3 separate regions of the Homo sapiens genome follow, and all the other regions are linked to region 1. Evidence: promoter capture Hi-C in 16 types of primary human blood cells and fetal thymus (Javierre and others, 2016). All regions are on one chromosome and are shown on one strand. The core of a region is centred on a gene start or on the middle of the fragment in contact, and the rest is flanking DNA. Distances in the headings are between cores, read along the strand shown. Region 1 holds the start of AFDN-DT (AFDN divergent transcript). Region 2 holds the start of LOC105378127 (a long non-coding RNA gene). Region 3 has its middle 170 kb from the start of TTLL2.

Region 1 (4,790 bases), core at 1,605-4,104:
ATACACATAAAAAGATTACCCAAGTAAATAAATACAAGGCTTAAATCTTATTTCTACAAATCAACTCCTGCAGTGAATTTGTTCAACATCTACTGAACATCTGATAAGGACCAGTACAATGCTTCTGTTCTTGCAGAAAACTAAAAAATTGGACTTGTGATGGCCAAATAGAGTAAAAATAATCATTAGATGGTTAAAAAAAAAAATTCACACGAGCTTAGACAAAGCAAATTGAAACTGTTGGCCTTGAAATACTGGCTGAGAGAATTACTCATATTAAGTTTACCTACATCATAATAAAAGATACAATATGTTAAATGCAAAGCTTAACTAGGACCAGAATAAATTTAATAGTACAGGAAAGTTCTCGAGAAAACAAAATAGAAATGTGAGCCAGCCACTATATAGTAAAAAAGCTAAAAAACCAATATATGGACATTCTTAAAAACCATTCATTTCATTATGAAAGGCTTCTAATACAATTCTGAAGAATAATTTCTAAAAATGGAAATGTTCAGATATAAGTAGGGAGAAAAATTAGGAAATGAAATATATCATCTTTTTTTCCAAGTCCTTCAATTCTTGTTTTGCTTCAGTGTATGTACAAAGCAAACTTTCACCTACAGTATAACTGAAAAAACAGCTTTCCAAATGACAGGCCAATTTTAAAAACTAGTCATATCACTAAGAAATAAAAAGTTTCAATTGAGTGCTTAAAATAGAATTTAATTAAATCAATGAACTATAATGTTTCTGATTTGAGATTTTTTTAATGCTAACTCAATTCAAAATCCCAAAAAGCTGAATTCTCTTTATTAAACCGAAAAAAGATTCCTTTCCACCAGACTTGAGAAATCTCTCAAAAAAAAAAAAAATCCATTCAAACAAAAAAAAAAAGCTACACACCAAGAAAATGTTTTATGGTCAACTTTTTTTACCTTGTGATAAAAAGAAAAATGAATTCATTATTCTAAAAGAAAACATAATCCTGAAACTAAATTATCATGTCACCTTTCTAAAGATACACTAGTCTATGAACGAACACTTAAGTACATAGTACTAACTCCCTTACTAGAACCTAACTCATAAAATCATTACAGAAGATGAATGAATCAGGAGTAACTTAACATAACATCTATGCTCAAATTGACAACCTGAGCCTAATGGCGTGTGTCAGTATTCAACTCAGTATTAAGACAAATGGCTAGCTACCCACGTCAAGTGCAGTCACAGGTACAGATGAAAACAGAAGAAATAGAGTCCTTCCCATGACTGGCAAAAACTCAAGAAATCAGAGAAGCAATAGTCAAATTCTCTCAAAAACATAAAGTGGAATTTAATGATAAAAGGATTACATTTCGTAAGAATGTTCAAATCTGCCAAACATGTTTTGTTGCCTAGGAGCTAGTATTTTATAGCAAGTATTAACTATAAATTACCTATTACAACAAATCAAAAATAGACGCTATTAAAATGATTTCCTAAACGGGCACAAATATTGAGTGAAATTTTTTTATGCTGGTAAAGTCTGTGCAGCCACCGAATGAACAGAGCGCGGAACCGACCCTTGCGGAGCGATTTACAGGGTTGCTCCCCGACCCTTCACCTCCCTCCCCTCTCCACGGAGCCCTTCCTAGTGGACTTGGACTCAAACATTTTTTTAAAAGCTGCTCGGAACGCTTTCAGCAGCTTTGCTATAAACAACCCCCATTGTTACCAGGCCAGGAGCGAGCGTGATTTCCTCCTCCTCTCAGGGAGCCAGCCTGGGGCCGGCGCCTCCCTCCGGGCAGAGGCCGCCGCAGAGGGCCCTTCCTCGCGGCCCCGAAGGTGGAGAAGGCGCGCCTTTCCTCGGAGGCGTCCGACTCCGGGCCTGTGCCATCAGGCAGCCCGCACCTCCCGAACTTTGTGATACTGACTTTCCCCTCCCAGCTGGCAGCCTGCAAGTTTATGAACCCGAAGCACAGCGCGCGTCACAGGCTCCATCCCGGCCACGGCGAAGGGGCGCCGCGAGCCACAACCGGGCTGCAGGTGGAGGGCGCCGGCCCCGCGCGCCGCCGCGCCCCCCGCGCCGCCGGGGATGAGGCCGGGGCCGCGCCGCGCTCGCGGGGGTGGGGGCGGCGGCCCAGGTGAGCCACCAGGTGAGCGGCCGGAGAGGGGAACAGGTGACTGCCGCGCCCCGCCAGCCCCCGCTCGGCCCGCGCGACCCCGGGATACACCGCGGCAGGGGGACGGGGGCTGCGGGGGACGCCGGGGCCCGCGGTGGGCCTGGGGGAGGGGGAGGGGAGAGAAGGGGCGGAGGGGGGAGGGGGAAAGGAGGGCGGGTCCGCGGCTGGCGGGCGGCGGCGGGGGGGAGGGGCGGGGCGCGGCGCAGCGGGCGGGGGTCGCGCAGGCCCCGCGCCCGGCGGTGCTCACCTCGGTCGGCTGGCTGATCTCGAACAGGTCCAGCCGGTTGGCGTTCCAGTGGTGGATGATGTCGGCCAGCTTCCGCCGCTCCTCGTCACGGCCGCCCGCCGACATGGTCCTGGCCGCGCCTCCTCAGCCGCGCGGGGCCGGGGCCGGAGGACGGGCCGAGGACGACAGGTCCGCGGGGGCCCGGCGCCCCTCGCCACCCCCCGCCGGCCGCCTCCGCCTCCGCGGCTGCCTCCGCCTCCGCGGCCGCGCCGCGTCCTCCGACTTGGCCTCCGCCTGGGGCTCAGTCCGCGCCGCGCCGCGCCGCCTCAGCCCCGCCGGCCGGTGTGCGCCCGGCGCCCGCCGCCCGCCGCCCGCACCCGCCCGCGCCCCGCCCGCCGCCGTGCGCGCCGCCGCCCGCCGTGCGCGCCGCCGCCCCGCGCGGCGCCGCCGCACCTCCGGGCCGCTCCACTAGGTGCTGCTGCCGCGGCCGCCAGGGAGGGAGGTGTCGGAGGGCGGGCCCCGCGCGGTGCTAGGGTTCCGTCTGGACTGGCGGTGGTGGGTCCCAACCGGCGGTACCGGGTTCCTTCCCGACCAGCGGTGCTAGGTTCGGTTCGGACGCGCGCTGCTGGATCTAAATGGGCAGTGCTGGGTCCGATGGGTGGTGCTGTGTTGGGTCCGGACGCGCGGTGCAGAGTCCGGACGGGCGGTGCTGGATCCAAATGGGCGGTGCTGGATCTGGACGGGCGGTGATGGGTCCGATGGGCGGTGCTATGTTCGGTTCGGACGGGCGGTGCTAGGTCTAAATGGGCGCTGCTGGGTCCGATGGGCGGTGCTGCGTTCGGTCCGGACGGGCGGGGACGGGCGGTGCTGGGTCCAAATGGGTGGTGATGGATCTGTGGACGGGCGGTGCTGGTTCCAGACGGGCGGTGCTGGGTCCAGACGGGCGGTGGGTCCGATGGGCGGTGCTAGGTTCGGTTCGGATGGGTGGTGCTAGGTCTAAATGGGCGGCGCCGGATCCGATGGGCGGTGCTGGGTTCGGTCCGGACTGGCGGGTCCGGGTCTGGACGGGCGGTGCTGGATCCAAATGGGGGTGCAGTGCTGGATCTGGACGGGCGGTGCTGGGTCCGAACGGGCGATGGGTCCCATGGGCGGTGCTAGGTTCGGTTCGGACTGGCGGTGCTGGGTCTAAATGGGCGGCGCTGGGTCCGATGGGTGGTACTGGGTCCGGACGGGCGGTTCTGGGTCTGGACGGGCGGTGCAGTATCCAAATGGGCGCTGCTGGGTCCGGACGGGCGGTGCTAGGTTCGGTCCGGACGGGTGGTGCTGGGTCTAAATGGGCGGTGCTAGGCTCAGCAGGGGACCGGTGGGCGTGGCGGCACAGGTACGGAGCGCAGGGCCGGTGGAGCGCCCTCTCCGAAGGGCCCTGCGCTCCCCGCGCTCGCTGCTCCTCCTGCCCGCGCATTGCCCCGGGGCTGCTGCGTGTTTCTTCCAGGGTGATTCCTTTCCGCTGGGTCACTTCAAAGCCGACCTTTTCAAGCTGTTTTCTTCCGCGGAGGACACGTTGTTAGGCTTTGTGTGCATTTCAAGGGTCATGTTTTCTGAACCGCGCTCTGCCGCTCTTGGGGTGTTCGAGCCCCCACACTGCTGTGCGGTGTTCCTCTCACAGAGTGAGGTTGGAGGGTCCCACTCCCTTTGTGTGTCTCCTTAGAAAACGCCTCTTCTCTCAGACACATCGTTATCTGCCAATTCTTCGCAGACGTAGAGAACGGACTGCAGAGTTAATAAACGTCGAGGGGAAGCTTTGATGCGCCCCATTTGGCCCTGAGAGATGCCACGTGATCGTCATTTTAAATCCTGTACGTGTCCCCGTGGACGTGGAAACCTGAAATTAATTTCAGTAGCAAGCTTTGTGAATTGTAGGGATTTTTTTTCATAAGGTGTCTTTTTTGTAATTGCCCCTCCCCTCCCCCACCCTTTGTTTTGGCTGCAGAGCGCCATCTCTGCAGTCTCCCCACGCCGGGTTCAGTCAGGCGAAGTTGCGTTATCTGTGATGTGTTGTAACAAAAAGCGTTTATCTTTGAAACACTAAGGCAAGTAATGAGAAGAGTGAACTATATTTGACAAAGCCTTTTTATTTTTGTCATTACTTTTTTTTCCAATGTGGAAATAATTTTTCTCTCCACCAACTGGATTTCCTCTTTTGCAGACAATTAAAGAATTCTGTCATCCCCACTGGGTTCTGTCTTTTCTACCGCACTTGTCCAGTACAGCTACATAAGGAGGCTTCTCAGCAGAGGAGCCTGGGGTGTTGAACCAGTGCCATGAGGGAATGAATTATTCAATAGATCGCTAGTCTCCTTTCTTAAAATTAAAGTGTGGTGACTTGCAGAAAAGCATCT
Region 2 (4,790 bases), core at 1,489-3,988, 350 kb after region 1:
AAATGTGATTTTTGGCCACTGTTACGTTAATGTAACTTTTGGAAGTCATGAACTACTTGACAACCTGGAAGCTCCACAGCTATGGAAATAATTCTTCGAGTGTTCTCTGAAGGCAATGAGCAAGGGTAAGAATAAGCAGCCCCAGCCCCCAAAAGCAATGGAAGTATTTGTTTTACTTTTGAAGGCAGGATATCATGGATTATATATGCCTTATCTTAGTTATGGTGGTTTAAACAGCAATAAAGTATAAATTTTAATACATAGTAAAAATGCCATTTTTCACTTTCCTATTATTCCACAATCTCTGAAAAATGTCTTCCTGGAATCTCCTGGAACTTTTGGAACATAATACCAACATTTTCAGAGCATTTTTCAATGTGCCAGGTATTATGTCAGCTACTTAGGATTCAAATAAAAATCTCGCTACTCTGTCGACCTTCAGTGCATAACAGCTTAGCAGAAGAGAGGAGGAAGAAATGGACAGCAAAAGCATAGCTGCGGAGTGAAGTGATGAAAGTCAGAATGCAGGCACAAACCGAGGGGTACAGGAGCAGGGAGCGGGGCAGGCTCCTCAGACCCCTGAGCAAATCCGCGGGAGTCACAGGGGCACAGGCAGGCTTCCAGGAAAACGGTCGCCATGAAGTGTTGACAGTTGTCAGGGTGAAGGAAATTTGATCCTGAGGATGCTGGCCCTGGTTTTAGCATTTCAATACTGCTGGGTGTCTTGCCAGTGTGATACCCCCTGCACGTGATACCACCTGCAGTGGCAGGTTTCAGCCAGGCCTTTGGTGCTTAAGTGACCCTCGGTATTTGGTAGCCAGGGCAGTGAGCTGGCCTTCATTCTGACTGGCCACTGCCCATGTGGGACTAGGTGCTAAATACATAGGATATCACCCCGAATCCTGAACTACTGATTGTTTCGTGAAGTAATACCATGATGTTAAACACTGCTTTAAAATGTTTAAATCAAACCAAGAAAAATATTTTTAGAAAGCAAGCTTCTATACCTTCAAAATCTTCAAGAGGAGGAAGACGAGGATAATGGACAAAGCAAAGCTTCTGTTATAGGAATAATTATTTCATGGTTCCAGATACTTTTGGAACAGTAGAAAGTCAGCATGACCACCATCCTACATTAGAATCTCTATCTATACATGGTGAAGCCCCATCTCTACTAAAAATACAAAATTAGCCAGGCAGGGTGGGGGGCACCTGTAATGCCAGCTACTTGGGAGGCTGAGGCAGGAGAATTGCTTGAACCTGGGAGGCAGAGGCCGCAGTGAGCTGAGACGGCGCCACTGCACTCCAGCCTGGGTGACAGAGCAAGACTCTGTCTCAAAAAAGAAAAAAAAAAAGATGAAGATAAATAAATGCCTGATTTGAGAATATTGGAAGAGCTTTCTCTGCACATGTGAAAACTTGACCGAACATATGCTTCTGTTACAAAAATATCATTGTAGATGCACTGTGATTTTTAAGATCACACTGTTAAGAAATACATAACAATATTTCATTTTCATTTGTCATTAATAATTTATTGTCCTTTTTTGTGTAGCATTTAGCACATTTAAGAAATATCTATTCATAGGTAGTTATAAAGAATACATACTTCATATTTCTACTTTTACAAATGTACATTTTTTATTTCTATCCTGTTTATAAATTTTGCATTTGAAAGGTTTAGGATTTTTTTTAAAGAATGCATGGATTCTGAACACTGATTTCGAAATGCCAGTATGAACAGTGGATTGGAGCCTTCTATGAAGGAAATACTTGCACTCTGAGTTCTGTGCTCTCCCTGGCAGGGCAGTGCCTCCTGGTGCCGAGAGAAGCCCTGGGCCCTGCCTCTGGGCAGGGTTCTCCTCCCAGGCTGTGGGGCTGAGGTGGAACCAACTTCAGCAGACATGGGTTCTGAAGTCGGCTGCAGGCTGAGGTCACCTGCAATCTGGACCTTCCACAATTGCCTCCTGAGGGCACTGGCTGCTGTGTAGGTGCATCCCTCCCTGCATGCTTGTGATGCTGGCACAGAGGCCCAGGTAGAAACAGCCAGGCCCAGAGGGTGGTGGTGCCCATGCCCAGAGGGGTGGCCTTTTCCATGCAATGAGCTGTTGCCCCTGCCTTCCTGGTTCAGCCATCTCCCTGGTAAGGGCCTTTCCTTCCCTCCTGGGCCATCCTCACAGCCTCGGGTCTGTGGAGCAAGGGCTCTGCCCTTCCAGAGCTGTGGCTGAGGCTGTGTCTCCTCAACCTCACTCTGCAGGGATAGCCAAAGCACTGTGAAGGGAAAATTGTCATGAAACGGCCCAGCCTCACCATAGAACCATTGAACTATCTGCATTTCAAGAAGAAAGTTCCCAGGAGAAAGCCTTCTGCAATAGAGGAGTGGCTGGAGGCATCTCAGGGCACCAGGAATGCAGTGAGGTGGCTCCTTCTGATGGGGCCTGCATTGCTGATGCCGTAAGTCACCTGCAGACGACAGCCCTGGCACGGGGCTGCTCATGGGTCAAACCCTCATGGGATGGGGAGGGAATACACTAACGCCACCTCTCTCCTTTAACGTTTTTGTCAGACAATCAAAATAACCTCCCAGAAAAAAAACCGCAAAGTCCTCCCATTTTACTGATCTCATACATAGAGTCAGCAACGCAGGAAATAAATCTATCAGAATCCATTAAATGCCTTTCCCGCACTTCTAAATATCATTGATGAGAAAAGACACATTGATTCAGCCGTGCTTCTCAGCAGGTGGAAGGCCCAGTGCAGAGACAGCAGCCGCCAGAACTGGGGTCACTGGTGAAGGCGGAGACCTGACTTGCCCGAAGCCCGGGACCCTTCTTGAAAGACTGACACCATCAGGACTGGCCCATTCCAAAAGAGGCAGAAACACCCACAGCTGTGTAGGGTATAGGGCTGGACACCGAGTGGTCCCACAACTCCACTCCTGCCCAGGATACAGGAGACAGAAGTGGCTGTGTTCAGATCCCAGGAACTATCACCTTCCTGCTTTCATTGACAGCTTCCTTTCCTAGCAGAACCAAAAATAGCTGTCAATCAACCCTCAACTTAGTGAAAATAAAAGGACAGCAATTCTCCTAAGCAGTGCTGGGTGCATAACGGGACACACAACAAGAGTGGGATGCTTGTGTCTGAGTCCAGCTCTACCGTGGCCCAGCTGCCACCTGGGACAGGTCCTTAACTCACCCATTCAGCCTCTCCCTCATCATCCTCCCTCCCCTCTGCCCCACCTGTCGCCTTCCCCACCATCACCCTCTTTCCCAAACCAGACCCAGTTTCTAAGAAGAGCTCTAACAGCTAGTTCTTCCCCCTCAGTCACTGCTGGGCTCTCTTCTGCTGTGGAAATTTCCAGTAATGGGGAAAAGGGGAGAAAGAATACAAAAATAGCAAAGAAAGGAATGCAGTCCACATAACAAAGAGCCAGTGGGTGAAGCAAGAGAAAGAAGACCATTTTATTGATGATAAATCCAAATTCCTTGCAGGCCCAGGGTCCCTACCTGCCACAAAGCCACCTGCCACACCTCCCCCTTGGATTTGCAAGGAATTTGGACTTATTTTCAATGCACCGGGAGCCACTTCATTCTGACTGATTGTGTGAGGGACTCACTTAACACAGTCTGGTTCAGTCAGATTCTGCAGTGCTTTGGGTAACTGTCCCTGCCAAATCTCATGCTGAACTGTCATCTCTCCAACATTGGAGGGGGGCCTGGTGGGAGGTGTTTGGGTCATGGGGGCAAATTCCTCATAGTTTGGTGCTGTCCTCCTAGTAGTTAATGAGTTGTCAGGAAACCTGATAGTTTAAAGTGTATGACATCTCCCCCACTGATATGGTTTGCCTATTTCCTCACCCAAATCTCATCTTGAATTCCCACCAGTTGTGAGAGAGACCCAGGGGGAGGTAATTGAATCACTGGGCAGGTCTTTTCTGTGCTGTTCTCATGATAGTGAGTAAGTCTCATGAGACCTGATGGGTTTATAAAGGGGAGTTTGCCTGCATAAGCTCTCTTGTCTGCCACCAGGTAAGATGTGCCTTTCACTTTCCGCCATGATTGTGAGGCCTCCCAGCCATGTGGAACCGTAAGTTCATTAAACCTCTTTCTTGTGTAAATTGTGCAGTCTTGGGTATGTCTTTATCAGCTGTGTGAAAATGGACCAATACACCCACCCTTGCTCCTGCTCTTATGCTACCCCTGCTCCTGCTTCACCTTCCGCCATGAACAAAAGCTCCCCCAGGCTTCCCCAGAAGCTGAGAAGGTACCAGCACTGTGCTTCCCTCACAGCCTGTGGAGCTGTGGGCCACTAAACCTCTTTTCTATATAAATTACCCAGTCTCAGGTACTGGTCTGCAGCCTGTTAGGGACCAGGCTGCACAGCAGGAGGTGAGCAGCTGGTGAGCCAGTGAAGCTTCATCTGCATGTACAGTCACTCCCCATCACTGGCATCACTGCCTGAGCTCAGTCTCCTGTTTGATCGGCAGCAGCATTAGATTCTCATAGCAGCACAAACCCTACTGTGAACAGTGCCTGCGAGGGATGTAGGTTGCGCGCTCCTTATGAGACTCTAATACCTGATGATCTGTCACTGTCCCCATCACCCCCAGACAGGACCCTCTAGTTGCCAGGAAACAAGCTCAGGCCTCCCACTGATTTGACATTATGGTGAGTTGTATAATTATTTCATTATATATTACAGTGTCATAATAGAAATAAAGTACACAACAAATGTAATGCGTTTGAATCAAACTGAAACCACCTTCCGACTCCCACTGTTCATGGAAA
Region 3 (4,790 bases), core at 791-3,290, 330 kb after region 1:
CAGATGCCAGGGCAGAAATAAATCCTGCTGGCTCAAGAAGTCAGACCAGAGAAAGAATTCAAATGCAAATAGAAAGGGCGAACTGTGTCCTTATCAGCGTTTGGCACATCTGATAAAACAATGCCTGGCCACTGATGAATTCATGAAACCCAGAGAAAAAACTAAGAAAGCTCCGGGTATGGAAAACAGAAGAGAATCCAGGAAATGGTAGCCTGGCTCTAAACAGCTAATGCTGGAGTGCCTGATTGTAGGTGAGCCCGCTGAAGGGCTGCGTTTCATTTCCAACGCCAGGTGATGTTTTCCTGGGAAAGATCTGGACTCCGCCTCGCCTTCTGCTCACCCAGGTCCACTGTTCCTGCAGCCTCGGGCTCAGCAGTGGATGTGACTTTGGGTCCAAATGACAAGTGTTCCAAGCTAATGCCACGGTCCCCATCAGCTTCTTAGCACCCTTGAAGAATTTCTCAACTCTTCCTGGTGGACCCAGATGTGTGTGTGTGTGTGTATAAGTGTATGTGTGTGTGTGTGTATGTATCAGTGTGTGTATGTGTGTATAAATGTGTTTGTGTATAAGTGTGTGTGTATAAGCATGTGTGTAGGTGTATTTGTGTGTGTAAATCTCTGTATAACTGTGTGTGTGTACATGTGTATGCGTGTCTCTGTGTGAGTGTGTATGTGTATGTGTGTATCGTGTGTGTATGTATATGTGTGTGTATAAACGTATGTGTGTATATGTATAAGTGTGTGTATGTGTGTATAGTGTTTGTGTGTAAGTGTGTACGTATAAGCATGTGTGTATGTGTGTATAAATGTGTGTAAGTGTACGCGTGTGAGTGTGTAAATCTGGGTATAAGCGTGTTTGTGTGTGTGAGTGTGTATATGTGTATGTGTGTCTCTCTGTGTGCGTGTGTATGTGTATGTAAGTGTGTATGCGTGTGTGTATGTATGTGTGTGTGTGAGTGTGTGTGTGTGACACATTCCGGCCCAGTCACCTCTGTTTCCCATGAAACTGCATGATGGGACCTCACTGCTGTACTGGTCAGGGTTCTCCAGAGCGACAGAACCACTGGGAGAGGCAGATACACACTGATTGGGAGGAACGGCTTCCACTATCCCCGTAGCTGGTGCGTCGCAGGATCTGTTGCGTGAGGTTCAGCTGGTGACCCGAAGAGGCGCGGGGGTCCTTCAGTCTGGAGGAGCAGCTTGAGATCCAGAAGAACTTAAGATTCTGCTCGAGTTCAAAAGCAGGAAAAAAGCCGAGGTCCCACTTCGAAGGCTATGAGGCAGGAAGAACTCCCCTCTCCTCCGGGGGTCAGGGGGTTCCTGGTGCGTGTTCTGTTGAGGTTTCTGCTGCTGGATGAGCCCTCACACACACACACATCAGGGAGGACACCCACTTTACTTAGTGCAGCGAGTCAAATGCTGATCTCGCCCAAAACACCCTCTGGACACACCCGGGATAATGTTTCACCCGCAGCCCAGTCAGGTTGGCACAAAATCCAGCACCGCGGCCCATCACGTGAAAAAGCTGCTGCTTCTGTTCTTCGCCACCCCTACTCCATCATGTGAAAAGCTGCTTCTACTGTTCTTAGCTCCCCCCATCATGTGAAAAAGCCGCTTCTTCTGTTCTTCGCCCCGCCACTCCACCATGTGAAAAGCTGCTTCTCCTGTTCTTAGCTCCCGCTCCATCATGAGAAAAAGCTGCTTCTTCTCCTGTTCTTAGCCTCCCCCACCCCCTCAGGCCTCCTCCCAGGCAGCTCCACACCCGACTGGGTCTCGGGGGAGCCCTGCGTCAGCACCAGCCCTCACACTTGCTATCAGGGCTCAGACCCGCGCCTGCAGCTCGATGGAGGCAGATCCCACACATTCCCCTCAACCCTTCTCCCGCCTTCCCCGCCCCTGTTACGCTCATGTCCCATTCACTCCAGAGAACACAAGCGGTTCTGGTCAGGCGGGGTGACCTCTGCCTTGGAGGGAGCCACAGCCATCTGCTCTGTGAGAGGCGGACGGGCCGCACCCAAGGCCTAGTGCGGGGGGTGTGGAGGGGCGTGTTCCCTCTGAGCTGGCTTGCAGGGGCAGCATTCAAAGGGACTTGCATGGAACATGTTGTCTTTTCCAAAATATCAAAGATGAGTAAAAATGCATATATCTAAAGCAGTAGGGGAGGTTAGCTGGGGACCCCCGAGCTCTTGGTCACAGAAGAGGGTAAGTATAGGCTGCACAACTGACCCCCAGCCTTCCTGTTGCCCTTTTAAAGGAGAGCACCCTAAGGAACTGGTCACGTTTCTAAAATGTGTGTGCATGGGAGGGTGTGTGCGAGGATGTTTGTGTGCATGGATGTTTGTGTGCATGAGAGTGTGTGCATGGGAGTGTGTGCATGGGACTGTGTGTGCATGGGACTGTGTGCATGTGAGTGTGTGTGCATGGGACTGTGTGTGCATGGGAGTGTGTGCATGGGACTGTGTGCATAGGAGTGTGTGTGCATGGGAGTGTGTGTGCGTGGGAGTGTGTGCATGGGACTGTGTGCATGGAGTGTGTGTGCATGTGAGTGTGTGCATGGAGTGTGTGTGCATGGGAGTGTGTGTGCATGGGAGTGTGTGCATGGAGTGTGTGTGCATGGGAGTGCGTGCATGGGACTGTGTGCATGGGAATGTGTGTGCATGGGACTGTGTGCATGGAGTGTGTGTGCATGGAGTGTGTGTGCATGGGAGTGCATGCATGGGACTTTGTGCATGGAGTGTGTGTGCATGGGACTGTGTGCATGGAGTGTGTGTGCATGGGACTGTGTGCATGGAGTGTGTGCATGGGACTGTGTGCATGGAGTGTGTGCATGGGAGTGTGTGTGCATGGGAGTGCGTGCATGGGAGTGTGTGCATGGGAGTGTGTGTGCATGGGAGTGTGTGCGCATGGGAGTGTGTGTGGATTCTATTCTTTACTGAGAACATGTAGGAAAGTCATTTTTTCAAAAAGCAAACACTAGTCCTGTGGGCTTTGAAGCAGCATGGGGTCATTTAAAGGCCACTCAATGCCTATCAGAGGCTCCTCCATCCTGACCTGAGATTCTGCCAACATGGTATCCAAAGGTGACTACTCGGGGACTCCCAGAGCTGTCCCAGCAAGCCGATCCCCCGGGGGGAGAAGGGACACCTCAATGCTGTAGTCAATCAATATGCGAATTAATATCCTCCCTCTTCATGCCTTATCAGAAAAACAGGCTTTCTAGAGGACATTATGTTTTTACAAACAGTGAATAAAAAGCCTTTTAAATAACCCGAGTTCAGGTTTTCAGGGGCGGGCAGTCTGCTCCCTTTAGGCACATTTAGTAACATCTACTGGGGTGCCTCAGTTTTTGCAATAGTCTGGTGCTGCCGGCACCTGAGAGGCCCCAGCGAGACCAGGCTTCCTGCAGTACAAGCACAGGGTCTGCAGATGACCTGTCCTGCCGAAAACGCCCGTTGTGCTCCTGATGAAAAACACTGATGTTTTCATTTAAAAAGAGCAAGAAAAAACAAAATCCTGTTTTCTGTTTTTTAAAAAATTACACCAAAGTTTTCCCATCAGGCAAGGTCCCCAAGCCTCCCAGGCGGATCTAGGGACTTTAATTCCCCATTATCCTCCCTCGTGGGGGCTTCCTCTTCCTGCTGCAAGGCTTGGTGACGGCGCCACCATCCTCCCACTGCCTGAGAGACACACCCAGGAACAAAACCTCGGAAGTCCCTCGGCCAGATCTACCCATGACCTGGCCTCAGTTACTCAACCCAGCCAGCCCTGAGTTAATCCTGGAAAAACCAACGAAACTTGCTTTCTTCCCACTCCACCCGCCCGGCTGTCTTCTCGGCTGCTGTGTCTTTGTTTGAGATGGGGCAAGGGGAGGCAGCCGCCCAAGGAGGGCTGGTCTCAGAGAGAGGCGGCAAACGCTGGCACCCGCTTGGCAAGTGCCAGGGATAAGGAGGAAGAATGAAGAGAGAAGAGGCAAAGACAAATATTCTTTTGTAAAGAAGACGAACTGCTGACTTCAGCCAACATAAAGCGTGTATCTATAAAGCACGGCTTTGGAAGCCAAGGGCGTCCAGAGGACAGGAGGAGAGAGCTCTTTATCTCCTGTCTGCCTGGTCTGTCTCGTCATGAGTCAGGAGGGAGCATTCTGGGGTGACGAGCATTTGCTTTGTGGTTGTACCTGTGGAAAACCCATCCCTTGACTTTTCTAAAGCCAAAATTCAAATACGCCTTACCAGGATCCCCATGAATCTGCTGGTATACATCAGAGCAACTATCATCAGTCCTCTGCTCAGGAGAAACTAATCACTGTACCTATGCAGAACACCAGAACAGGCTCACAGTTTCCCAAGGCTGATAAGGAGGGAATATGGACTCAGCCGCCCATTCTGCTGGTCAGCAGCTATTTGCTGAGCCCGTTCTGTGTGCTGGCTACTCGGTTAGATGTTGGGAACATGATGAGGAATAAATAGCAAAGGATAAGTAAACAGACAATTATAACACAGTGTGTGATGGGCAGATAATGCCTCCAAAGAGATCAACACCCTAATACCTGAGCCTGTGATTGTATTACAGTTCATGGTAAAAGGACTTTGCCCATGTGATTAAGATAAAGGTCTTGAGATGGATATCTGGGTTATCCGGGGAGGGCAAATGAATGAAAGAAACAGATGTGACAGTGGATCAAGGGGCTGGGGTGATGTGAGGAAGGCTCTTGAGCCAAGGCATGTGGGGAGCTTCTAGAAGCTGGAAAAAGCAAGGAAGTGTATTCTCCCCTAGAGCCTCTGGAAGGAACG

What was found. The method cuts DNA at HindIII sites, captures the fragments that hold promoters and counts their contacts. A CHiCAGO score of 5 or more calls a contact.
Region 2: a contact is called between a fragment that was not itself captured here and the fragment with the promoter of AFDN-DT in region 1, in 1 of 17 cell types (endothelial precursors). The highest score is 6.3, in endothelial precursors.
Region 3: a contact is called between a fragment that was not itself captured here and the fragment with the promoter of AFDN-DT in region 1, in 4 of 17 cell types (endothelial precursors, M2 macrophages, megakaryocytes and 1 more). The highest score is 11.1, in endothelial precursors.

Annotation. Positions count from the first base shown.
Region 1 is chr6:167,824,860-167,829,649 of GRCh38, reverse strand. AFDN-DT (AFDN divergent transcript) reads left to right here and starts at 2,854. Exons shown (of 2, transcript NR_027906.1): 1 at 2,854-4,247. It overlaps AFDN (afadin, adherens junction formation factor), which reads right to left and starts at 2,739. Exons shown (of 34, transcript NM_001386888.1): 1 at 2,413-2,739. The coding sequence starts at 2,517. RefSeq lists silencers at 2,587-2,786, 3,701-3,770 and enhancers at 2,937-3,016, 3,047-3,116. The HindIII fragment of the contact is 3,865 bases long and covers 328-4,192 here.
Region 2 is chr6:167,472,033-167,476,822 of GRCh38, reverse strand. LOC105378127 (a long non-coding RNA gene) reads left to right here and starts at 4,033. Exons shown (of 4, transcript NR_134591.1): 1 at 4,033-4,089. RefSeq lists an enhancer at 1,599-2,112. The HindIII fragment of the contact is 3,360 bases long and covers 1,059-4,418 here.
Region 3 is chr6:167,491,222-167,496,011 of GRCh38, reverse strand. No RefSeq gene overlaps it. Among named protein-coding and RNA genes, the nearest start is that of TTLL2, 170 kb to the right of the region's middle. RefSeq lists an enhancer at 2,232-3,139. The HindIII fragment of the contact is 6,893 bases long and covers 1-4,790 here.